7 separate regions of the Homo sapiens genome follow, and regions 1, 2, 3, 4, 6 and 7 are each linked to region 5. The links are contacts of gene promoters, found by promoter capture Hi-C in blood cells and fetal thymus (Javierre and others, 2016). All regions are on one chromosome and are shown on one strand. The core of a region is centred on a gene start or on the middle of the fragment in contact, and the rest is flanking DNA. Distances in the headings are between cores, read along the strand shown. Region 1 has its middle 11 kb from the start of ITGAX. Region 2 holds the start of SETD1A (SET domain containing 1A, histone lysine methyltransferase). Region 3 overlaps STX1B (syntaxin 1B). Region 4 holds the start of HSD3B7 (hydroxy-delta-5-steroid dehydrogenase, 3 beta- and steroid delta-isomerase 7). Region 5 holds the start of FUS (FUS RNA binding protein). Region 6 overlaps FBXL19 (F-box and leucine rich repeat protein 19). Region 7 overlaps ITGAD (integrin subunit alpha D).

Region 1 (3,329 bases), core at 313-2,812, 160 kb after region 5:
ATTCAATGCCATCCCCATCAAGCTACCAATGACTTTCTTCACAGAATTGGAAAAAACTACTTTAAAGTTCATATGGAACCAAAAAAGAGCCCACATTGCCAAGTCAATCCTAAGCCAAAAGAACAAAGCTAGAGGCATCACGCTACCCGACTTCAAACTATACCACCAGGCTACAGTAACCAAAACAGCATGGTACTGGTACCAAAACAGAAATATAGACCAATGGAACAGAACAGAGCCCTCAGAAGTAATGCCGCATATCTACAACTATCTGATCTTTGACAAACCTGACAAAAACAAGCAATGGGGAAAGGATTCCCTATTTAATAAATGGTGCTGGGAAAACTGGCTAGCCACATGTAGAAAGCTGAAACTGGATCCCTTCCTTACACCTTATACAAAAATTAATTCAAGATAGTTTAAAGACTTACATGTTAGTCCTAAAACCATAAAAACCCTAGAAGAAAACCTAGGCAATACCATTCAGGACACAGGCATGGGCAAGGACTTCAAGTCTAAAACACCAAAAGCAATGGCAACAAAAGCCAAAATTGACAAATGGGATCTAATTAAACTAAGAAGATTCTGCACAGCAAAAGAAACCACCATCAGAGTGAACAGGCAACCTACTGAATGGGAGAAAATTTTTGCAAGCTACTCATCTGACAAAGGGCTAATATCCAGAATCTACAATGAACTCAAACAAATTTACAAGAAAAAAAGAAACAACTCCATCAAAAAGTGGGCGAAGGATATGAACAGACACTTCTCAAAAGAAGACATTTATGCAGCCAAAAGACACACGAAAAAATGCTCATCATCACTGGCCATCAGACAAATGCAAATCAAAACCACAATGAGATACCATCTCACACCAGTTAGAATGGCGATCCTTAAAAAGTCAGGAAACAACAGGTGCTGGAGAGGATGTGGAGAAATAGGAACACTTTTACATTGTTGGTGGGACTGTAAACTAGTTCAACCATTGTGGAAGTCGGTATGGTGATTCCTCAGGGATCTAGAACTAGAAATACCGTTTGACCCAGCCATGCCATTACTGGGTATATATCCAAAGGATTATAAATCATGCTGCTATAAAGACCCATGCACACGTATGTTTATTGCGGCACTATTCACAATAGCAAAGACTAGGAACCAACCCAAATGTCCAACAATGATAGACTGGATTAAGAAAATGTGGCACATATACACCACGGAATACTATGCAGCCATAAAAAATGATGAGTTCATGTCCTTTGTAGGGACATGGATGAAGCTGGAAACCATCATTCTCAGCAAACTATCGCAAGGACAAAAAACCAAATACCGCATGTTCTCACTCATAGGTGGGAATTGAACAATGAGAACACATGGACACAGGAAGGGGAACATCACACACCGGGGCCTGTTGTGGGGTGGGGGGAGGGGGGAGGGATAGCATTAGGAGATATACCTAATGCTAAATGACGAGTTAATGGGTGCAGCACACCAACATGGCACATGTATACATACGTAACAAACCTGCATGTTGTGCATATGTAACCTAAAACTTAAAGTATAATAATAATAATAATAAAAAAAGAAAAATTGGAGGCCAGTCATGGTGGTGCAGTTCTGTAATCCCAGCATTTGGGAGGCCAAAGGGGGCAGATTGCTTGAGCCCAGGAGTTCAAGACCAGCCTGAGCAACATAGCAAGACCTGTCTCTTAAAAAAAAAAAAAAAAAAAAGGGCCAGGTTCAGTGGCTCACACCTGTAATCCCAGCACTTTGGGAGGCTGAGGCTGGTGGATCGCCTGAGGTCAGGAGTTCGAGACCAGCCTGGCCAACATGTCAAAACCTCATCTCTACTAAAAGTACAAAAAATTAGCTGCGAGTGGTGGCGGGTGTCTGTAATCCCAGCTACTCAGGAGACTGAAGCAGAAGAACCGCTTGAACCCAGGAGGCGAGGGCTGTAGTAAGCCAAGATCACACCATTGTACTCTAGCTTGGGCAACAAGAGTGAAACTCCATCTCAAAATAATAATAATAATTAGCCAGGTGTGCTGGTGCACACCTGCGGTCTCAGCTACTCAGGAGGCTGAGGTGGGAGGATTGCTTGAGCCCAGGAGGTCAGTGCTGCAGTGAGCTATGATGGCACCACTGCACTCCAGCTTGGACAACATAACAATACCCTGCCTCAAAGGAAAAAGAAAAAAAAGAAAGAAAAAGAAAAACTGAAACGTTTGGCAATATGAGGCTGCAACAGAACTGCCCTATTAGGCAGGACACGGCTCTCCAATCACTCTGGTCCCCTGACTCCACATAGCACTCTGGCCTCTGAGCCTGGGCAGTTGTTTTTGAGGTGACCTTTGAGACCCTGGCTTCCTCTGTAGCTCAGCTTCTGCTCCGGCCCACCCCTCCCTCTTGAACCTCACATTTCCGAGGTGAGCCACACTTTGGTTGACCAACACGCTTCTGAAAGTGAAAGGCATTGTGATTAGTAATTACCGGAGAAGCCCGGCTTCAACATGGCCTATCTGGGAAGGTCGGGACCTGTCCGCGTTCCCCTAACTCCCTTTCACCTCTCAACCTTTGCCTATGCTGTATCCTCTGCCCAGAACTCACTTCCTTTTCTTGTTCACCTGACCCCTGCCTCAGCTGAAGTGATCTTCCTCCAGATCCTCTTGATCCCCCAGCTGGGAGAAGTTCTGCCTCTCACTTGCTGCCATGGCAACCTGCATTTCTTTTCCTGGAGACTGTACATTCCCAGGGGACAGGAAGCCCCATCACACCCCTAGACCCTAGGACAATACCCAGAACATGTAACAAACAATTGCTGAGAGAGGGAATGAATGAATGAACAGGCCTGGGTTTCCCCAGCTTCCTATTCTCTGTGCACTCTTGAAGGAGAGACAGCTCTCAGACATCCCTTTCCCTTCATCCTAACACATCTTCAGGACCATATAGTATCCAACTGGGCCACTTCACATTTTTCTTTCTTTCTTTTTTTTTTTTTTTTTTTTGAGACAGGGTCTTTCTCTTTCATCCAGGCTGAGTGCAGTGGTGCGATCATAGCTCACTGCATACTTGATCTCCCAGGCTCAAGGGATCCTCCTGCTTCAGCCTCCTGAGTGGTTGGGACTACAGGCCCACATTACTGTGCTAGCCTAATTATTTATTTATTTTTTTGAGACGGAGTCTTGCTCTGTCATCCAGGCTGGAGTGCAATGGCACGATCTCAGCTCACTGCAACCTCCGCCTCCTGGGTTCAAGCAATTCTCCTTCCTCAGCTTCCTGAGTAGCTGGGATTATAGGCACCCGCTACCACGCCTGGCTAATTTTTGTATTTT
Region 2 (3,516 bases), core at 401-2,900, 220 kb before region 5:
CTTGAGCAACTACCACATACTAGGGGACTTTCATAGGTTATCTTATTTAACTCTCACAACACCTTAAGCGTTAAGTCTTTATCATTTTCATTTCAGAGATAAGGAAACAGGCCCAAGAAGGCTGAAGATCTTGCCCAAAACCACACAGCTAGTCCATGAAACTGAACTTGGACTATCTACCCCTCACACGGGAATCTCTCTTTGATTTGAGAAAAGGAACCAGTGCCTTTCAACTGGAACAGAAAGGAATCTGATCTCAACACCTATGCCTCCACGTAAATTATTTTTTTCAGCCTTATTTCCCTCAAAATTGTAGAGTCCTAATCTTCTTCTATCTTGTGGTGTGAGACCTTGGATAAGTCTCCCTTCCACCTTTTCCTATTACTTAAAATGGTGAATTTGCATAAACCAGGCTCTAAGGGTCTTTTCTGCACTGTTCGGATGTGTACAAATTGACATCCAAGTTTAAAGGAAGACTCTGAAACTTAGGTCAATGACTTGCCCAAGGCCATATAGCGAGGGCCTGATGTACACATATCAGGAGCTTGGGGCATCCTCAGCTCAGGAAAAGGGACCTCCTGGGAGTGCCTGCGCCCACACGGGATCAAAACGGTGCCCAGCCTTCAGAAACCTCAGCCCGAGTTCCAGGGGTAGGCCTGGGCCGCTGCTGCCCTTGTGCGGAGGCATCCCGTGAGCATAGGGCGCCATAGCCAAAGAAGCGGGCAGTGGGACCATGACGCCAGGAGGACACACCAGTCCAGTCCCGTTCCTGTAGGACCTCGTTTATTATTACAAGGCCCATTTAAGGGCACTTAGGCCCCACTAGGCTCATCAGAAAACCTTGAGGCGGTCCCTGGATTTAACCACTAATGGTGGGTTTGAGTACGGCAAAGTAGGGCACCTTCTACAGGCCTCACTCTCCCCATCTGGCAAATGGGCATCCTAAGCAGCCAGACACCCAAGGGCAATAACGGGAAGGAAAGGTACCCTGCATTTATGTGCGAGGCGGGGCAAACCGCCTGAGTCACCGCTCACGGTTGTGTTTTTCCACCTCCCGGCCGTCCCTCCCATCCGGGTGAGTCCTCGTGGGTCCTCCCGGAGGCGCCCCCTAGTCCCAGGCTCTGCACGCCCTGGCCCCGCCCCTTGACTCGGCCCCGCCCACAGCGGAATCCGCAGATTCGCCAGGTCGGATCCTCAGAATTCCTCGGGTCCCTCGATACTCGGCTGAAAATTCTCATCGGACTCTGAGAGGAGCGCTGGGCTGGAGGCATTTTCCCCAGGGACAGAAGCGGGCTATTCTCTCACTTGGGCCAGTAAGAAAAATCCAAAAAAAGTTGTCGACTCTGCCAGCAGGGATTGGCTAACGGGCCGTTATTTTCTTGACTCCACCAAGGCGGATGAAGGGGAGGCTACGGCTGAGGCCGGGAACAGTGGCGAATCTGCAGCCTCTCAGAATTTGGCAGTGCAAGGAAGGGACGGGGAAGAGAAGCAAAGCGGCGCGCATCCTGTCCAGCGATTCGCCCCGCCCGCCCGGTGAATCTGCGTCTGCAGAACGCGCCACTGAAGGTTCCCCAGCGCTGGCTGGCCTCCTCCCCTCCGCCCCGCCCCTTTTCCTCAGGGACTAGTCGCAGCTTTCGTCGCCGCCGATTCGTCAAGGTCCCGGGCCGCAGCATCTAGATCGTCGTGGCGAAGCCGACTCTCCGGGGGATGCGGCCAATCTCCAAGCTCCCTGGGCCGCAACTTCCGAGCCTCCCAGGGCGCCGGCCGAGGCGAAGCCGCTACCCTCGGCCCCGTGGGTCCCCCGGCAGCGCCTGTGGCGAAAGTGCGAATGCAGACCCTGTGCCCGCTGGGCCTCGCGCAGGTGGCAGTGGTGTTTGGTGCGCGCGCCGGGGAGGTGGTGGTGGGGGGGCGCCGCCGCCGCCACCGCTGCGGGGCCGGGTCTCGCGCTGCCGCTGCCGCCGCCTCGCGCCGCTGAGGTGCCGCGCGAGGTGGGGGGAGGGGGAGCCGCTCGCCGGGAGCGGGTGAGTGGGGCCGCGCGGCGCGCGTGCGCGGAGACCTGCTGGGGGGGGTGCAGAACGCGCCGGGGCGGGAGGAGAGGGCAGCGGTGCACGTTCCCCCCACCCCCCCGCCCGGATTCGGGGTCGAAGCCGGGTCTCGGGCTCGGTCTCGCGGTGTTTCCAACGCCCCGAAGAGGTGCCACCTTTCGGCCGGAGGATCGGGGCGCGGGGAGGAGAGCGGGTGTGTGGGAGCCGTGGCCGGGCTCGGCCCGGGCCGCTGGCCGGTGAGGAGGCGGGAGGGGGCGGGGCCTGCAGGGGGCGGGGGAGGGGTCTTGCTCCGAGGCCAAGTGGGGCGCGCGCTAGGGAGAGCGGGAAGGTAAGGGGGCTCGAGACGGGCCTGGGGGCCTGACAGTAGAGTTGGGAGGTGGAAAGAGGCTGGGTTGTTGTGGCGAAACAGAGGGTACTTGGGGGAGAATCCGGGGGAGCCCCGGGTCAGGGTGAGGGTTGGAAACTGGAGTGATGGGAGAACCTGGAATCGGGGCTAGCCAATGAGGAAAGGCAGGGGAGTCAGGCCCCAAGTCCTGATCCTTCTTGCGTGTCCCTCTTCCCCTAACAGTGTAAATGAGCAAAGATGGATCAGGAAGGTGGGGGAGATGGGCAGAAGGCCCCGAGCTTCCAGTGGCGGAACTACAAGCTCATCGTGGATCCTGCCTTGGACCCTGCCCTGCGCAGGCCTTCTCAGAAGGTGTACCGCTATGATGGAGTCCACTTCAGTGTCAACGTGAGTGCCCGGGTCTTTGGTTGCCATCCGGGGAGCTCCAGGCGCCCGTCCTCTGTGATTCTGTTCAGCACCTAGAACGGTAGCCTGCCTTCTTGAAAGTGGGCAGTTGGACCCAGCTCTTCTGCATGTGTGTGTCCAGATGGGCTGCTTGGAGCTCCCTAGCCTGGATTCACCCTGAGCTCTCTTTCTGCTGCTGCTTTCCTTCCTAGGACTCAAAGTATATACCAGTCGAAGACCTCCAAGACCCCCGTTGCCATGTCAGGTCCAAAAACAGAGACTTTTCCCTCCCAGTCCCTAAGTTTAAGGTAAGTGTCTGCTGGGCTCCTGGTGTGGTAGTCCTAAGAGGGTGTGGAGGATGCGTCTTGGCACTATAGCTGAATAAAAGGGTTTCCAATGAAAGGATCTCAGCCAGATCTAGCAACCTCTGAGGCTGTGAGACTCAGTTGTTTTGGATAGGAGGTACACTTAATCTTCCAGAAAGGTGCAGGTCAGGTGTCCTAAGTGTATCCCTGGTGGCTGGGGTGTCGACTTCTTGAAGGGTGAGGTAAAGACTCTTTAGCTGCTATACCTATCACTGTATATTCGTAGACAGTGCATCATAGCACACAAGAGTGGGATCTCCCAGTTCCTTGACAGTCAAGGGGAGTGACAAGGCCACTGCCTACCTGGGTAGCACTATTCCCCGCCTCTCATTTGGCGATGTCATTTCCCTCTTGTTTCCTTCGAGGACTCCTATTC
Region 3 (3,446 bases), core at 164-2,663, 180 kb before region 5:
TGCCACCGACAGACAGACTCGAGACACAGACAGAAGAGCTGACACCCAAGGCACACAGGAATAGGCCCCCCCGACACCCACACGGAGATGCACTGATGCTGGCGTTCACCCGCACGCAGACTCACAGCTGAGCCGCACTGACATGTGTGGACACACTGGCTTTCAGCTGCACCCCTGAGGACATTTGGGAGGGCTCACTGGGCTTGTTCTTCCAGCTTCTCCGAGCCTCATGTCTGCACACACACTCAGAGCTGGACAGGAGAGGCTGTAGGGGAGGTGCCCTGTGCTACACACACCTGAGTCCTTCTCTGCTTGGGACAGAGGTCTGACAGCAAAATCTGAGTCCATCAAGCTTAATGACATCTGGAGCCCTGATCAGCCCCAGTGGAAATGTATACAGAGTTCATTCTGATTTCCAAAAAGAACCCAGCCAGAGCTCAGACAGAATCCAAACCCCAGAGGCTGGGTGAAATCAAGACAGGATCCAAACAGCATCCACCTGGGGGTGTACTCAGTTGGAATCCAAAAAGAAGAGCTTGCCAGGGTCCCAGCGGAACGCAGACAGGGCCTAACAGAAACCAGACAGGCTCAGACTGAACTAGCCGAGGCTCACACGGATCCCAGACAGATCCCAGACAGCTCAGATTGAACCTAGACAGGGCCAGATGGGACCTAGGTGCAGTCCACACAGCCAAAACTCAGGATCAGCAGTGCCCCACAGCCCCAGGAAAAGCCAGCACAGCCTGGGGGGCCTCCAGCTCCACGCTCCTGAGCCACCCCAGCCTCCCTGCTAAGCCCAGCCCAAATGGAACTCCAGGGAGTCTTCACACAGACGCTGGGCCCACACTGTGTCGGAAAATGTGTTCAGCACTTGTGTTGAATTTCCAGACAATCCCAACCATCCGCCTGGAAAGGGAGTTTCCTCTGTCTTGGCTCACAGCTGCCCCCAGAAAGTGGGGCGGCACAGGTGGCATAAGTTGGGGACCCTGAGAGGCTCTGGGATGCTGGGCTCACCTCTGAGGACCCATCGGCCTACCATGATGCTCTTCACTTTCTCTGTCCTCAAAATCCAGCTGTGCTACAAGGCCTCCTTCCCCTAGAGCCAAAAGCCTTCCTCTGCCCTTTCTCTCCCTTCAACCACTCACTCAGCCACCAGCCTCACGCAGGTCATGCGGCCTCTCCCTGGCCCGGGTGCCTGAGGACTTTCCTGTTCTCTGTGTCTCTCCCTTCCCCATGCTAATGTTAGGAAGTCTTTCCTAAAATCTAATTTCAATCTCTCCTGTTGTTCTTGGAGCCACCTCCCTTAGGTTCATCTCTGGAGCACCCTGGGCTACCTATTTGTTTGCCCTCAAGACAGGAAGAATGATAGAAGGCCCAAGTGTGGTTTATTTGGTATAATAAATACAAAGAGAGCTGGGAGCTAATAATCCTCTACCATTTACAAACACTTTTACATCCATAATCCGTTTTGATCCTCAGCACCACCAGCCCTGAGAGAAAAGCTGCATAAACATCATCGTCCCCATTTCACAGATGAGGGAACAGGAAGCCAGGGGGGTAAAAGGAGAGTGACTTGCCCAAGGGCACCCAGGCCACATAGGGCCAGAAAACCATGGGCATCCAGCCCCTCAAAGACCGCTGTTAGGCTCCAGACTGGGCTACCTCCCCCACTGACTTTCCGCTCCCAGTTACTTTCCCTCTCAGTGAGCGCCTGCTAAGTCCCAATCTGGGGAAGGCTCTGTGTCCGGACAACCTAGCAAAACAAGAGCACTTGATGGTATTTTTTGCGTAAGTCTTACATTCTTGTTATCTCATTTAATCTTCATTAGGACTCTGTAAGGACCATTGGCCAACATAATTATACTTATGCAAATATTTAGATGATGTTTTACAATGTGCCAGGCACTGTTCTATGTGCTCCACATATATCTATCCATTTCATTCTTACAACAGTCCCCTTGGAGGTATTATTATAGCCCCCTTTTATAGATGGGGAAACTGAGGCATAGAGCTAAATAACTCAGGCCAGTTGTAGTGGCTCACGCCTGTAATCCCAGCACTTTGGGAGGCTCTGGTGGGAGGATCACTTGAACCCAGGAGTTCAAGACCAGCCTGGGCAACATAGCAAGATCATGTCTCTACAAAAAATACAAAAATTAGCTGGGCATGGTGGTGCGCACCTGTAGTCTCAGCTACTTGGGAGGGTGAGGTAGGAGGATCCCCGGAGCTCAGGAGGTCAAGAGACTGCAGTGAGCTGTGATTGTGCCACTGCACTCCAGCCTGGGTGACAGAGCAAGACCCCGTTTCTTAAAAAAAAAAAAAAAAGAACTTGCCCCAGGTCAGCTGTTAGAAGACCATTTGGCTCTACCCCTGAGCCTAGTCTCTGCATTTGCTGAGTGGTAACAATGCCTACCACCGGCTGATTCCATGTTACAGACAAGGAAACAGGCTCAGAGAGGTTGCCTGACCTGCCTAAAGCTTCACAGCAAATGAGGCCAGAGGTAGGACCTGAACCCAGGACTGTCTGGCACTAAATGTCAGGCTCTCTCCCTTCTGTCCTGCTGACAGATGGCAGTCCCTCCTGGTCCTAAAAAGCCCACTCTGCCATGTCCTCAGGACTGCTGAACTCCTGCAGCCAGGACAGAAAATCAGTAGGAGGGGCCCAGGGCTGCAGGAAGAGCTTGGACAGGAGGCCATCCCTCCCAGCCTCCGTCTGTCTTGCTGTGTGACCCCAGGCAAACTTAGACTCCTCCCTGGGCCCCAGTTCCCTCATCACTGAAATGAGCAGACTGGTGCAAGTGCCCACCCTGCTCTGAAGGGCCCTCCGTGCTCTGAGTGATGCATATTTAGTAATGAGTACAGCATCCATTTCTGGAAGAAGTTAGGCCAGCCAAAAAGAAAGCAGGCTGTGGGCAAACCAGACTACCTAGGAAAAGATGATCAAATGTGCCCCAGTCTACTTTATGGTGGCCTCAGGTTACAGGTGAACGATTCAAGCCTCAGTTGCCTCATGTGCAAATCGAGGATGTAACATATATGTGCTGATTACCACGAGTTGGGTCCTATTACAAGTGCTTTGCATTTCTTTTTTTTTCTTTTTCCTTTTTTTTTTTTTTTTTTTGAGAGATGGGATCTCACTATATTGCCCAGGCTGGTCTCGAACTCCTGGGCTCAAGAGATCCTCTCTCCTTGGCCTCCCAAAGCGCTGGGATGACAGGTGTGAGCCACTGCACCCAGCCTGCATCTCTTGTTTAATCCTCACGACCACTCCATGAGGTCATATTCTTATTCTCACTGGACAGATGAGGAGGTGGAGGCGCAGAGAGATTGGGTAACTTGCCCAAGATCACACAGCTGATGGGATGACTCAAACTCAGGCACTCTGCTCTACAGCGCACAGCTCCTTGAGCACTTGAGAGGGATTGAATGAGAGAGTGCAGTGCCCC
Region 4 (3,587 bases), core at 1,088-3,587, 190 kb before region 5:
CTCTTAGCTGCTGGGAGTATGATGGGAGGGCCAGTGAGATGGGTGTGAGGAGGAAGAACAAATATATGGTCAAGATGAGCTCCAGTCTGGACATGTGGGGTTGCAATGCCCCAGGGACATCTAGGGGATGACGCCCAGCAGCTCCACTGAGGTGGCTTTTGGCTGGAAATGGAAGTTTGGGAGGAGTCCCCACCACATAGCTGGCGGCTGAGGCTCTGGAAGGGAGTGAGGTCACCCGAGGAGGGCGTGCAGAGGCTCCTCACTGTCTTCTGGGAAGTAAGGGTTGCTCCTCACACGGAGGTGCGGGGCCTGACATGGGCGGCCTGCCATTTGCATTAGCCGGTGGCAGCCAACAGGTGCCTGTTTTGGAGAGAGGTCCAGGGAGGAGAGATGAGCAGGGTGCCGTTGGTGACATGGCCAGTCATTTCAGGAGCTGCCCCAACCCCAGACTTGCCCCAGCAGTCCGGGACCCCACTGTGACCAGGCAGATGCTCGAAGGAGTCAGTGGCTCTCTTACCCAGTGCAGATTTCCCTGGAGTTCCCTGCGGGTGACTTAGAATGGCCACCAGAGGCTTAGGATGCTGCCCCAAAGAGGGAGGGCTCCTGGAAGCAGAGTCGAGAGAGTCAGTGCCGGGTTAGCGGGAGCTGGAGGCAGAGCTGCAGCTCCAGGCCTGGTGGGCGTGGACCTGGGGTGCTGGCTGGCAGGCGTGCTCAGGGGCAGGAAGTGGGGGACTCTTCCCTGACCATCGCATCTCACCCTGGCAGATGGTGGCCGACATGCGGGAGAAGCGCTACGTGCAGGAGGGCATTGGCAGCAGCTACCTGTTCCGGGTGGACCACGACACCATCATCGATGCCACCAAGTGTGGCAACCTGGCCAGATTCATCAACCACTGCTGCACGGTGCGCCAGGGGCCAGCCGGGGCAGGAGTTGGGGGTCGGTGGGGGTGGCCACGGCTCACACGCCCTTCCATCCGCAGCCTAACTGCTACGCCAAGGTCATCACCATCGAGTCCCAGAAGAAGATCGTGATCTACTCCAAGCAGCCCATTGGCGTGGACGAGGAGATCACCTACGACTACAAGTTCCCACTGGAAGACAACAAGATCCCGTGTCTGTGTGGCACAGAGAGCTGCCGGGGCTCCCTAAACTGAGGTGGGGCAGGATGGGTGCCCACACCCCTATTTATTCCCCCTGGTGCCCTGAGCTCCCAGCACCCCCCCAGCCTTAGTGGGCTCAGCAGGGCCCACATGCCCCCATCTCCAAGCGTGGGGTTGGGGGCCCCAAGCCCAGCGAGGGAGCCTCAGTCCCTGGAGGCAGCTTCTGCCTCTCCTGTCACCCCTGCCCACCACCCCCTGATTGTTTTTCTTTGCGGAGAAGAAGCTGTAAATGTTTTGTAGCAGCCAGCAGCTGTTTCCTGTGGAAACCTGGGGTGCCGGCCTGTACAGATTCTGTCCTGGGGGGCTACACAGTCCTCTTGCTTTGTGTTAATGGGGACTTCCCCTTACGCCCTGCGTGTACCCCTCCCCAGTTTAGGGGTCTCTGGGGCAGTGGCCATGTTCTCCCCCTGGGGGGGCTCTGCACCCCCAGTCCTGGGGACTCCGTGCCTGGAACCCTGCCTCATCTGTTCCTGCCAGACCCTGAGGGTCACCCTTCCACCCTGGTGTCACTCCCCGGCTCAGCCAGGCCAGGATGGCGGGGTGGGTCCCTTTTGCTGGGCTGGACTGTACATATGTTAATAGCGCAAACCCGACGCCACATTTTTATAATTGTGATTAAACTTTATTGTACAAAAGTGTTTGGTCGGTGTATTTGGGCAGGAGCGAGGGGTTGGGGGTAGAGGGCACGGAGGGTTGTGCAAGTTGAAGAGAGGGAAAAGTGGGTACCTGAAGTGTGGGGCAGGTAAAGGGGCCTTCAGGCAAGAGCCCAGACCTGCAGAGACAGTCCGAGACTGTCTCGGACCCCCTGACAGGCTGCAGCAGCCGCACCCGCACCAGGAATACCCCACCAGTGCCCGCCAGGGTGGTGCCAAGGTCAGGCCTCCCCTTCCTACAATCACAGCTGCAGCTGGACCTCCGGCCTCCTGGGAAGCCCAGCAGGAGGGAAGGCCTGAGGTCACACTGTGGGATGAGGTCACCGCTGGCTCCACCCACAGCCCCAGACCCCTTCAGCCCACTCTGCAAGTTCGAGCTTCATCCCCACCAAGTTCTCCGCTGGACCCAGATGCCAGTGGAGCACAGAGCGGCCGCCAGGGGGCGCCTTGGGGCAAGAGTGGTGGGGGTTGTGGCTGGGCGGGTCTCTGTTCCTGGAATGGGGCAGGAGGGAGAAGGAGGAGCCAGCGGAAGGACGGTGTGCGGGCCGGCCAGCCCTGGACGAAAGAAGAGGGCCCCTCCAGGCCAGTCTGGGCACCCTGGGATAGCGGCTGCAGGTAGGCAGAGGCGCTGCCAGTGCCCAGGTGGCCTTTCCCTCCATCCGGCCCTTCCCACCTTCCTATAACCTTCCCTCCACCTCCCTCAACTCCTGGCCTCCCCACCCTTTTACTGCCTTCAAATCTCTCTCCCTAAACCCTGACCCCTTCCTGCACCCCAAGCCCGCCCCTCTCTCCGTAACTCAGCCATCAGCAGGGGCAGACGGCAGGTGGCCTGGTTGCTGCAGCTCCCAGGATCAGCTCTGCCCTCCCCGCAAACGCCAGCCTCGTCACCGCTCCAGGGCACCTCCAGCAGTAACAGGTGGTTGCAGCAGGTGGCAGCCAGCCCCTGGATGAGCCAAGGTCTCTTCCCCAGCCAGGCATGGCCGACTCTGCACAGGCCCAGAAGCTGGTGTACCTGGTCACAGGGGGCTGTGGCTTCCTGGGAGAGCACGTGGTGCGAATGCTGCTGCAGCGGGAGCCCCGGCTCGGGGAGCTGCGGGTCTTTGACCAACACCTGGGTCCCTGGCTGGAGGAGCTGAAGACAGGTTCTTGTTGGGGGAGCTTGTGGTGGAGAGGGTGTGGACGCTTCCCCAACCCTTCCCAAGCTGGGATCCCCACCCCTGCAGTGGAACAGATGATGCTGGTTTCTGTCCACATGGATGGGTCGAGTGAGTCACATTGGGAACGTGACTCCAGGGTGGAAGATGAACCCAGCCTCTGGCCTCTGGCCCCAGCTCTGACATGGCCTGTGTCCTCCAACCCCGGCCAGGGCCTGTGAGGGTGACTGCCATCCAGGGGGACGTGACCCAGGCCCATGAGGTGGCAGCAGCTGTGGCCGGAGCCCATGTGGTCATCCACACGGCTGGGCTGGTAGACGTGTTTGGCAGGGCCAGTCCCAAGACCATCCATGAGGTCAACGTGCAGGGTGAGGAGCTCTGGACACTCCTGGCCATCTTGCCTGTTTGTTCCCCACTCTGTCTTTGGCCTTGACCTCCGGTGACTCCCCTGGGACAAGTTGTCCTATTGACAGCCCTGCCCCCGCCTCCCCTGACCTGTCATGGTTTTCCCTGGACCTGGGATGGGGAGGAGGAAGATGCAGAGAGGGAAGAAGCTGCAGCTTGGATACGCCTCCTCCTCTGCCAGGTACCCGGAACGTGATCGAGGCTTGTGTGCAGAC
Region 5 (3,704 bases), core at 431-2,930:
TTTGTATTTTTAGTAGAGACGGGGTTTCACCATGTTGGCCAGGCTGGTCTCGAACTCCTGACCTCGTGATCCACACGCCTCGGCCTCCCAAAGTGCTGGTATTACAGGCGTGAGCCACCGCACCCGGTCAGCTTTATTATTAAATGTTAACTTCATCTGCTTTGTACACGAATGCATACCCAGTGCCCAGAACAGTGCCTGGAACATACTAGGTGCTAAATAAATATTTGTGACTTAATGCATGAATAAGGGTGGACTTCCTTTCTTTTGCTCTCACTGGAGAGTTGAACTCTCCTTCCAAAGGCGGTGGGGTGGATATTGGCATATTCAGGGCCTTTAGGGCTGAAGTCAAGGGCTTAGTGGGGCTTAATTTGTGGGCGGGCCCAGGGCATGGCCCTCATTGTTTCTCTAGAAAGACGTGTCCAACCCTCAAAGGACCTTCTGAAATCCCGCTGAAAGGTTAAGTTGGGAAGGAAAACCTGCATGCCTATGTATCAGGAATTAACGTCTTTTGTCTTGTTTTATTCAGTAGTTTCAAATTGCCTTCTCCAGGCAAGGCTGATGAAAGTGCAAGTTGCAAGTTAATTTGAATGTTTCTTTTTGCTTTTGCTCTCACAGGAAGTGAAAAGGCGACCAAACACTCTAGCATTCATGCCACCAAAAAGAGGAGTGTTTTGCAGTTACAAGACCTGGATTCGAATCACGACTCCTCTTAGCTGCCCTGTAATCAGGCACAATTACTTGGGTCTCTGAGTCTCACTTTCCTTATCTAGAAAACGGAGGTATCTTTACTTCCTTCGTAAGACTGATGACAAGGAAATTATCTGTGCATTTTGAAACCACTTAAGCCTTGTACACGTTTTATTTCTGGGATCGCCCTGGTAGGGCTTCAGAAAAATAAAAAGGAGGTCCCTGAGAAAAGGCTGGGTACCGTACATCTGAGGTCAACCCTCTCTGGTCCCAAGGATGGCCTGGGCTGTTCCGCCCCGTGGCTCCCCAGGGGCAAAGCCATGAGGATCCGGGTGAGAGCCCAGTGCTGGACGAGCCCGGGGCCCAGGGGTCCCGGCCGAAATCCCTGCTGTCTTTCAGGTCAAACGTCATAATCCCCGAACCCCAGAAAGGCCGAAAGGCAAGGCAACCCTGAAAGACGACGAAGTCAACCTCAGGGCGCAGGAGAGGGAGGGCCAGTGTGCTGCCGACGAGGGAGGCTGGAGCCGCGGGGACGAGGCGCCCCATACAGCGGCAAGAGGGTGGAGGGCAGGAGCTCGCCATCCTGGGTGAAAGCGGGGCCCAGCGAAGGGGCCCGGCCACAGGAATCTCGGTTCCACCCCGCTACTCCCGGCTGTGACTCCAGTTTCGTCCCCAGCCGCCGGGACCGCCCCCTCGCCCCGCCCCCAGCGGGCACTCAGGCCGTACCACTGTGCCTTCATGGGGGTGGAGATAGATCGTGGGCTAGTCCTGCCGAGGAGAGAGGGGTTCTTCCTCAAAAAATATGATTATGTATAGTATTCGCATGATTCTAGTTAACTTGTTTCCCTTCTGCCTGCTCGGACCCTCTACCTGCCCTACGAAGGGGGCGGAGTGCGTTCCTGCCTCCCCCTGCTCTTCCGCGTTTGGTGCGCGCCTGCGCGGTGCGTAGGCGGCGGAGCGTACTTAAGCTTCGACGCAGGAGGCGGGGCTGCTCAGTCCTCCAGGCGTCGGTACTCAGCGGTGTTGGAACTTCGTTGCTTGCTTGCCTGTGCGCGCGTGCGCGGACATGGCCTCAAACGGTAGGTAAGGGCGCGAGGCGACGGCGGCGGCGCACCCGGCCGAGGCCTCCCAGCTGGGCTTTTCGTTTTCAGTGGGACCGGGGCGGCGATCCCGTGTGGGATTTTTTGGCGCCCCTGTGGCGGGAAGCCGCGGAGAAGAGTAACTGGAGGAGGCTGGTGTCGCCATTTTGTTTCGCTCCTCTGGCCCTCGCGCGCGGGGCGGGAAGTCTTTTCTTTGCAGTCCGTTTGCTTGGGGTGGGCGTTGGGAGGGACGCTTCTTAGGGGTTTGAAGCGTCAGGTGAGGGTGGAAAACGCCCATTCTCCGTGGCCTCGCCTCCCCCAACTCCCGGCCCCGCGCTCGAGCCCGCTTTGTCGCAGTGCTGCATCCGGGCACTCGCGGCGCGCACGCGCTCTGCGGGCCCCTCCCCCTTCGCGGCGCGGGTACCCCTTCCCCGCCTCGTGTTGGTTCAGCTTTCTGTCGCGAGACCCTTCGCGGAAGACTCGGCGGCGCGCGTCCGGTGTGAGCCTTGTCCCTCAGTGGTCCTTCGCGAATGGGCGGGATCGCTCCGTTCCCGCCTGGGTTGCCACGCGGCTGGGGGCGGAGGCTCGGGATCGGGGCCGCCCTCTAGCTTAACGGTTTGGCGGCGGTGGTCAGGGTTCGACCAACGGACTTGGGGACGGCCCGAGAGTTTTTCCCGCCTAAATTTCTTTCTTTTTTTTTTTGGAGACACGGTCTTCCTCTGTCGCCCAGGCTGGAGTGCAGTGGTGCGATCTCAGATCACTGCAACGTCCACCTCCTGGGTTCAAGTGATTCTTCTGCCTCAGCCTCCTGAGTAGTTGGGATTATAGGCGCCCGCCACCACAGCCCGGCTAATTTTTGTGTTTCTTAGTAGGGGCGGGGTTTCACCATGTTGGTCAGGCTGGTCTCGAACTGCTGACCTCAGGTGATCCGCCCGCCTGGGCCTCCCGAAGTGTCGGGATTACAGACGTAAGCCAACCACGCCTGGTCTAAATTTCTTTTTTCTGAGATAGGGACGGAGAAGAACGGCCGCCCGAGGCCACACCCTCTCCTGGTCCTCTTTCCCTTTTCCTGCGGGGGAAGCGCCGCGTTTCCTGTGCTGGGAGGATGAGTTGATCTTGTTCGTGTATCTTAAGTGGGGCTTTTCAAAAGCGCTTTTGTTGCTTTTTGTTCGCTGGGGGAAGGCAGGGTAGGTGAGAAAACGGAACCATCTGGAGTCCCAGGGCTGGGGACTCGAGTACCTGTTGACTTTCGCCTCCTAAGGCGAGCAGTTGCATGATCTCTGTCATTTGGGGTCCAAGGGCTCTTTTGATTCTCTGGCTTTGCACTAAAAAGCCCACTTCATCTCCGGGATTGGTCAAAGAGTGAAGAATGGCCTTTTTTGAGACTTTCTTATTCTGTGGGTCTGGGCTGAGAGAGCAGAGGCCACAATCTGAACACTGTTCGAATTCAAACCTGTGCCACTTTGGTAGTTCTGCGACGTTGGGAGAGTTAGTCTCTTGACTCCTGGCGATAATGGCTTTCTCATAGAGTGGATGAAACGAATGCGCGATGTTTTAGAGCAATCACTGACATGAATTGGGCTTGCAGAAAATTGTGGATGTCCACCAAGACCTTGGTTTTTCCAATGGTTAAGGCTTCTGGGACTCTGTAGAAACTTGCATTTTCTTCACTTTTTCTTTATTGTAAGAACACTTGGCTGATAACGCCAGTTTGTTCCTCTTCTCAACCAGTGTCTCATGGAGGAATTTTATGCCCTTTGTTGCAACATGGTCCTATTTTTATTTTTTTTTTTGAGATGGAGTCTTGCTCTGTTGCCAGGCTGGAGTGCAATGGCTCACTGCAACCTCTGCCTCCCGGGTTCAAGCGATTCTCCTGCTTCACCTCCCGAGTAGCTGGGATTACAGGCGTGCGCCACCATGCCCGGCTAATTTTTT
Region 6 (3,339 bases), core at 439-2,938, 240 kb before region 5:
TCTGTCACCCAGGCTGGAGTGCAGTGGCGCAATCTCGGCTTACTGCAAGCTCCGCCTCCCAGGTTCATGCCATTCTCCTGCCTTAGCCTCCCAAGTAGCTGGGACTACAGGTGCCCGCCACCACGCCCGGCTAATTTTTTGTATTTTTAGTAGAGATGGGGTTTCACCGTGTTAGCCAGGATGGTCTCAATCTCCTGACCTCGTGATCTGTCCACCTTGGCCTCCCAAAGTGCTGGGATTACACCACACTTGGACTTTTGTGTTTATTTTTAAGATTAACATATTTATGTGAAACAATACTGGGGTTTTTTTTTTTGTTTTTTTTTTGAGACGGAGTCTCGCTCTGTCGCCCAGGCTGGAGTGCAGTGGCACGATCTCGGCTCACTGCAAGCTCCACCTCCCAGATTCACGCCATTCTCCTGCCTCAGCCTCCCGAGTATCTGGGACTACAGGCGCCCTCCACCACGCCCAGCTAATTTTTTGTATTTTTTTTTTAGTAGAGACGGGGTTTCACTGTGTTAGCCTGGATGGTCTTGATCTCCTGACCTAGTGATCCACCCACCTCGGCCTCCCAAAGTGCTGGGATTACACGCATGAGCCACCGCGCCCGGCAACAATACTGGTTTTAAGTGCAAAGAGGAGATGATTCAAAGATAAATCATGTTACGCAGATAAGTGAACAGCAAATACTGGAGCTTGGGAATCACTGCCCCAGCCCAGGGCTTCTACAAGGAAAAGCCTTTCAGAGTCATGAGGGCAGGGAGGGAGGCAAGAGAAAGCTTCCCTTGGGAGGCCAAGGGAAGGATCGCTTGAGCTCAGGAGTTCAAAACCAGCCTGGACAACCTTGTCTCTACTAAAAATAAAAAAATAGGCCAGGCACAGTGGCTCACGCCTGTAATCCCAGCACTATGGGAGGCCAAAGTGGGCAGATCACCTGAGGTCAGGATTTCGAGACCAGCCTGGCCAACATGGAGAAACCCTATCTCTACTAAAAATACAAAAAATTAGCCGGGCGTGGTGGCGCATGCCTGTAATCCCAGCTACTCTGGAGGCTGAGGCGGGAGAATCGCTTGAACTTGGGAGATGGTGGTTTCAGTGAGCCAAGATCACACCATTGCACTCCAGCCTGGGCAACAAGAGCGAAACTCTGTCTCAAAAAAAAAAAAAAAGTCAGGTGTGGTGGCATGTGCCTGTAGTCCCAGCTACTCAGGAGGCTGAGGTAGGAGGATGGCTTGAGCCCAGGAGTTTAAGGTTGCAGTGAGCTGTGATCGCAGTACTGCACCCCAGCCTGGGTGACTAAGCAAGACACTGTCTCAAGAAAAAAAAAAAAAAGCTTCCTGGGCCTGCTGCTTCTGACACAGTCTATTGAGTCTCAGAGGCATTTCTGGACATGCCTTTGAGAACTACTGAACTCAGAGAAGAGAGTTCTCAAACTGAGTCCAAAGGAACTTCAGTGTACTACAAAATGTTACTAGATTACCTTGGGAGAGGTGGGGAAGGATTCCTGGGGAAGTACGTTTGAGAGGCCCTTCTCCAGTTCACTGCATGTTTTTTGTTTGTTTGTTTGTTTGTTTGTTTTTGAGATGGAGTCTCTCACTGTTGCCCCAGCTGGTGTGCAGTGGTGCGATCTCGGCTCGCTGCAATCTCCGCCTCCCGGGTTCAAGTAATTCTCCTGCCTCAGCCTCCCGAGTAGCTAGGATTACAGGCGCCCGCCACCATGCCCAGCTAATTTTTTGTACTTTTAGTAGAGACAGGGTTTCACTAGTAGAACAGCCAGGCTGTTCTCGAATTCCTGACCTCATGATCCACCCACCTCGGCCTCCCAAAGTGCTGGGATTACAGGTGTGAGCCACTGCACCCAGCCCACTGCATGTTAGATAGTCTGTTGAGGCCTGTGGAGTGCTCGGGTTAGGAAACCTGTTTAATGTTGCTTAGGACTCGTTCATCTTTGTAGCTTCAATACTTGGGACCTATAACGCTTTCTATAATCAGAGTGAATAAATGAAATGCTGTAGATGAGGAGGTGGGGGAGAGTGGTCAGTGGAAGCTTTAAGTAGTTACTAGCTTGATTCATTCATTACAAATGGGCAGCTGGGTGCAGTAGCTCATGCCTGTAATCCCAGTGTTTTGGGAGGCCAAGGCAGGAGGATCGCTTGAGGCCAGGAGATCAAGACCAGCCTAGGCAACATAGTGAGACCCTGTCTCTACAAAAAAATTGTTTAAAAATTAGCCAGGCGTGGTGACATGTGCCTGTGGTCCCAGCTACTCAGGAGGCTGAGGTGGGAGGATTGCTTGAGCCCAGTAGGTTGAGGCTGCGGTGAGCCTGAGTCCAGCCTGGGTTACAGAGTGAGACCCTGTCTCAAAAAAAATTTTTTTTCAAAAAGTGGAAAACGCAAATCTGCCCTTGTGGAATTTACATTGTAGTTGGAGGAACACAGTAATGTAATAGGGAAGATATTAGGGCTGTAAGTCCAGCTGCGGGCAGCTGGCTGTCAAGATGGGACAGGTGTGGATCAGAAGCAGAGATGAGTAAAGGAGGCAAGGACCCATGAGCACCAGAACTCAGTCAGGAATCAAGAAGCCCAAGGGTGGCTGGAGACGACTGGATAACACCAGTCCCCTTGGCATGACATCAGGCAGCATGCGTGGCATTTGTGTATGTGTTGGGCAGCACACTTTCTATGCTGGGAGGCCCACAGCTGGGATGAGCCCATGTGACCTGACAGCTGCCCTGTGGGCAGGCAGAGTGGGGGGGCTATTGCCTTCAATCATAAACGAGGCTTCTGAGGCTCAGGGAGAGGAACAGACTTGCCCAGGGTCTCATTTCCAGTTAGTGATGGAGTTGGGTTCCAATCCCAGTGCTCTTGGCTGAGGTCAGGTGCTTCTTGCTACCCTGTTGTCTGTGTGGCCAGAAGAGAGCTGGGGTGCACCCTTGGAGCTGGGGAGCCTGGGAACTGTGGGCTGCTGAGAGCTGAGGGCTGAGGTCTCTGTCTCCCCCCTATGGCCGCCAGGTGCTATGACAAGCGTCTGTGGCCTCGAATGGACCTGAGCCGGCGGAAGTCACTGACCCCGCCCATGCTCAGTGGTGTGGTTCGCCGCCAGCCCCGTGCCCTGGACCTCAGCTGGACAGGTGTCTCCAAGAAGCAGCTCATGTGGCTTCTGAACCGACTACAAGGTAGGGTGTGTGGTACGGAGGACAGGGTGGGGACAGGGACAGGCCTGGGATGGAGTCCTCACAGCACCTGCTTCCTGACTGCCCCCTCTCCGCAGGCCTGCAGGAGCTGGTGCTCTCTGGCTGCTCCTGGCTCTCTGTCTCTGCCCTGGGCTCAGCCCCACTGC
Region 7 (3,434 bases), core at 208-2,707, 220 kb after region 5:
TTTCCTCCAGGGGCAGGAGGTGTCCCAGTGGGCAACAGTTCCCCTCTGCCTAGCGTGATTCCTGGGAAGGGACTCAGCTCAGAGCCAACTCCACGTAGCTGGAAATAAGGACCTCTGACCGACTGGGGGTAGGGTGGGGTCTGGGGTGGATCCCTGCCCCACCCCCACAGCATCCCTACAGGCATATCCTACAGGCCTCGAAGGTGCCTGGCACGTGGTGAGAATGGTGCCAGCGGCTGACCCTGGCAGAGGGCCAGGACTTGTCTCCAGCACCCATGTGCGTGTTGCTTTATCCTTGCAGTGATCCCACGTGGTAGCCACTGATATTACCTTCATTTTACAGATAGGGACACTGAAGTCCAGAGAAGTTAAGTAATGTGCCTGAATTCACCAATTAGCACGTGGCTGAGCTGGGGTTTAGCCCAGGCACACTGGCTCCAGAACACGCGCCCTGAACCACTTTGCTAAACATTCGCCCTTGATGCTTGTGGCACCCCTAGCATCTGTGTTTAATGAATATTTGTTGATTAAATGGATGAGGAGCCCACCTGGGTCCTGTGTTGTCATCCCTCTCTTTCCAGGCCATGTGGGAGGAAGGGAGCAGGGGGCTGGGGTGGCAGACTGGGGCCTCCTCCAAGGAGGGGTCGGAAACTAGGTGGGGATGCCAAGAACAGCCCCCGGGCTCTGTTGAGCAGGAGCTGCAGGAGGGGGTTGGGCCCCCGCAGTGCATCTCCGATTCCTCCCCATTCCCCCACAGAGTGTCCACATCAAGAGATGGACATCGTCTTCCTGATTGACGGCTCTGGAAGCATTGACCAAAATGACTTTAACCAGATGAAGGGCTTTGTCCAAGCTGTCATGGGCCAGTTTGAGGGCACTGACACCCTGGTGAAGACTGGGCACCTGGGGCTGGGGTTTGGGGGACGGGGGAGGCTGGCCTCGGGGAGGCATCCCGGGAGGGGTGGGGGCAGGCCAGTGAGCCGTGTGTGATGGGGCTGGGGTGGAGAATGAAGCTATGGTCCCAGCACAGGCCCAACTTGAGCCCTGACCTAGGAGGCCCTCTTGGCATTTAATAATGTATCCAAAAGCTACAGGAAATACAATGTTTCTGCTGTTTAAAAACATTGAAAGTGTTTAAAAAATAATTTTGCTATGGAATTTGACTGACATATTTTCTATGTAACTAATGATTTCTTTTTATTATTTTATTTTCCCATAACTAGTGCCTATGTATGTGCAAAAAAACCCCACTGTTTTGTTTTTTAAACAGGGTCTTGTTCTGTCATCCAGGCTGCAGTGTGGGGGTGCAATCATAGCTCACTGCAGACTTGATCTCCCAGGCTCAAGTGATCCTCTTTCCTCAGCCTCCTGAGTAGATGGGACTACAGGTGCATGCCACCATGCCTGGCTAATTTTTAAAAATTTTTATTGTAGAGATGGGGTCTTGTTATATTGCCCAACCTGGTCTCCAACTCCTGGCTCAAACAACCCTCCCACCTTGGCCTCTCAAAGTGCTGGGATTACAGGCATGAGTCACTACGCCCAGCCACAAATTCTTGAGAAGGGAGGAAATACACAAATTGATTTAATGTGTGATAAAATTTTTAAAAAGCTAAGGGTAGCAAATATTGTGGTTGGCAAAGTTATTTTTAATAAACTGTGAAGGAAATATCATTTGGTTTAGATTTTCCAGTTTATATTTTGTATTTTTGGGCCAATGAATTTTCTTCTCTGGGTTTCAGTATATTATTTGTAGGGCTTCAAAACACATGGGAAATGGTTTGTAAATCCAAAATAATTCCAAAATAAAGTTTATTAAAACTGAAAACAATATGGCTTGGTGTGGTGGCTCACACCTGTAATCCCAGCACTTTGGGAGGCTGAGGTGGGAGTATTGCTTGAGGCCAAGAGTTCGAGACCAGCCTGGGCAACATAGTGAGACCTTGTCTCTACCAAAAACAAAACAAAACAAAAAACAAAGCCAGGCATGTGACGTGTGCCTGTAGTTCCAGCTACTTGGAGGCTGAGGCAGGAGGATCACTTGAGGCCAGGAGTTTGAGAGACCCTGTCTCTACAAAAAATTAAAATAAAAACAATAGTAACAGGCACTGAGCCCTGGGCCCTCCCCACTGGCCTTTGCAGTTTGCACTGATGCAGTACTCAAACCTCCTGAAGATCCACTTCACCTTCACCCAATTCCGGACCAGCCCGAGCCAGCAGAGCCTGGTGGATCCCATCGTCCAACTGAAAGGCCTGACGTTCACGGCCACGGGCATCCTGACAGTGGTGTAAGCAACCCCGACCCCAGCCTGGCGATGTGACTGCCACCCCCACTTCCTAACCCTGGGTCAGCACAGCTCTTCTCAGAGGCTGAGGGAGGCTCCAGGGAAAGGGGCTACCAAGGGGCATGTCGGGGCTGCAGGGAGAACCTCCCCCCGGGGTGCTCCTGGTTGCCTCGCTGCCAGTCTCCCTGATATAGGACTAGGCTCCTCTGCAGCTATGCCTCCCCTTTGCCTGGTTCTGCAGAGCCTGGACCCCAGGACCCCTCCCCACCCCACAGCAGCCAGAGGCCCGGGCTTTGGCTCAGACACATCAGGCTCCCATCCTGGCTCCCCGTGAGCTACTCTGGGTGTAACCCTGGGGTGATGGGCTCTAAGTCTCAGTAACTCTCAGATGAAGATAAGCTCACAGCTTAGGATTGAGATCATGTGTGTGGGGTGCTCAGCCCGGGGCACGTAGGAGGTGTCGGATAAATGCCTGAGGTTTTATCAGAGAATGGAGTAGTCAGGGACTCAGGAATTGTCACCCAAGGTCGTCCTGGTGCCTTTCTCCCCACTCACCTCCTCTCCCGCATCCCTCACCCCTGCGCACCCCCTGTGCTACCCAGGCACTCACCGTGGGCCTGCCCCGTGCACATGCAGTCTATTCCTAAAACGATGTAGGAGGTGGGACCCCCGAGAAAGGCATGTGGTTCTTGTAGGAAGGAGCTGGGCTGACGGTCGGGGATCCTTGGCTTCCTGCACACACCCCTGGGAGCAGCCCTGGGGTGGTGCTAGAATTTGGCTTAAACAAGAGATGCTCCCACCAAACGCACCCTCTTTACTTCTGGGAGGCTCTTCTGCCTTGAACGGTGGCCCCTTGTGACTCAGCAACCCAGAGGAAGGCCTCCGTCTGTCCTGTAAGTTTAAAGTCACACGGGAGTGTCCCATTCTGGAGTCTCCACCTCACCCCTCAAAGTTCTTCCAGTGGTGGGGCCTGGGGAAAAAAATGAATGAGGCAGGGGTGACCGAGTGGTTCTCACCAACTCCAGTCCTGCTCTCATGCCCAGACTGCAGGAAATTTCCCAGCAGCCTTTGCTCCCCAGAGCCAAGCCCATCTCAGGGCTGGACTCAGCCAAGGATTGGACCTCCCTGCTGCCGGTCCTTCCCTTCCCT

The links. The method cuts DNA at HindIII sites, captures the fragments that hold promoters and counts their contacts. A CHiCAGO score of 5 or more calls a contact.
Region 1: a fragment that was not itself captured here is called in contact with the fragment with the promoter of FUS in region 5 in 5 of 17 cell types (M2 macrophages, M0 macrophages, M1 macrophages and 2 more); the score reaches 8.9 in M2 macrophages.
Region 2: the fragment with the promoter of SETD1A here is called in contact with the fragment with the promoter of FUS in region 5 in 1 of 17 cell types (M0 macrophages); the score reaches 5.2 in M0 macrophages.
Region 3: a contact is called between a fragment that was not itself captured here and the fragment with the promoter of FUS in region 5, in 6 of 17 cell types (M0 macrophages, M1 macrophages, monocytes and 3 more). The highest score is 9.7, in M0 macrophages.
Region 4: the fragment with the promoter of HSD3B7 here is called in contact with the fragment with the promoter of FUS in region 5 in 5 of 17 cell types (M0 macrophages, erythroblasts, monocytes and 2 more); the score reaches 6.4 in M0 macrophages.
Region 6: a fragment that was not itself captured here is called in contact with the fragment with the promoter of FUS in region 5 in 5 of 17 cell types (M0 macrophages, M1 macrophages, megakaryocytes and 2 more); the score reaches 9.6 in M0 macrophages.
Region 7: a contact is called between a fragment that was not itself captured here and the fragment with the promoter of FUS in region 5, in 9 of 17 cell types (M0 macrophages, M1 macrophages, M2 macrophages and 6 more). The highest score is 15.3, in M0 macrophages.

The regions. Positions count from the first base shown.
Region 1 is chr16:31,342,466-31,345,794 of GRCh38, forward strand. No RefSeq gene overlaps it. Among named protein-coding and RNA genes, the nearest start is that of ITGAX, 11 kb to the right of the region's middle. The HindIII fragment of the contact is 4,728 bases long and covers 1-3,329 here.
Region 2 is chr16:30,956,104-30,959,619 of GRCh38, forward strand. SETD1A (SET domain containing 1A, histone lysine methyltransferase) reads left to right here and starts at 1,651. Exons shown (of 19, transcript NM_014712.3): 1 at 1,651-1,861; 2 at 2,614-2,778; 3 at 2,988-3,083. The coding sequence starts at 2,629. RefSeq lists enhancers at 959-1,722, 1,180-1,309 and silencers at 1,910-2,129, 2,270-2,359. The HindIII fragment of the contact is 14,721 bases long and covers 1-3,516 here.
Region 3 is chr16:31,002,369-31,005,814 of GRCh38, forward strand. All of the region lies in intron 1 of STX1B (syntaxin 1B), which reads right to left. Among named protein-coding and RNA genes, the nearest start is that of STX1B, 6.5 kb to the right of the region's middle. The HindIII fragment of the contact is 2,126 bases long and covers 351-2,476 here.
Region 4 is chr16:30,982,870-30,986,456 of GRCh38, forward strand. It overlaps HSD3B7 (hydroxy-delta-5-steroid dehydrogenase, 3 beta- and steroid delta-isomerase 7), which reads left to right and starts at 2,338. Exons shown (of 7, transcript NM_025193.4): 1 at 2,338-2,428; 2 at 2,784-2,955; 3 at 3,180-3,335; 4 at 3,554-3,587. The coding sequence starts at 2,790. SETD1A (SET domain containing 1A, histone lysine methyltransferase) reads left to right here. Exons shown (of 19, transcript NM_014712.3): 18 at 766-903; 19 at 981-1,795. The coding sequence ends at 1,154. RefSeq lists an enhancer at 1,807-2,319. The HindIII fragment of the contact is 29,451 bases long and covers 1-3,587 here.
Region 5 is chr16:31,178,459-31,182,162 of GRCh38, forward strand. FUS (FUS RNA binding protein) reads left to right here and starts at 1,681. Exons shown (of 15, transcript NM_004960.4): 1 at 1,681-1,769. The coding sequence starts at 1,757. RefSeq lists enhancers at 567-626, 918-1,678, 1,137-1,206, 1,679-2,440, 2,441-3,201 and 4 more and silencers at 1,367-1,436, 2,077-2,226, 2,347-2,396. The HindIII fragment of the contact is 6,651 bases long and covers 1,657-3,704 here.
Region 6 is chr16:30,939,105-30,942,443 of GRCh38, forward strand. It overlaps FBXL19 (F-box and leucine rich repeat protein 19), which reads left to right. Exons shown (of 11, transcript NM_001382779.1): 8 at 3,012-3,175; 9 at 3,271-3,339. Among named protein-coding and RNA genes, the nearest start is that of ORAI3, 8.3 kb to the right of the region's middle. RefSeq lists a silencer at 2,906-3,035. The HindIII fragment of the contact is 714 bases long and covers 1,332-2,045 here.
Region 7 is chr16:31,401,358-31,404,791 of GRCh38, forward strand. It overlaps ITGAD (integrin subunit alpha D), which reads left to right. Exons shown (of 30, transcript NM_005353.3): 6 at 758-888; 7 at 2,143-2,288. Among named protein-coding and RNA genes, the nearest start is that of ITGAD, 9.7 kb to the left of the region's middle. The HindIII fragment of the contact is 7,259 bases long and covers 1-3,434 here.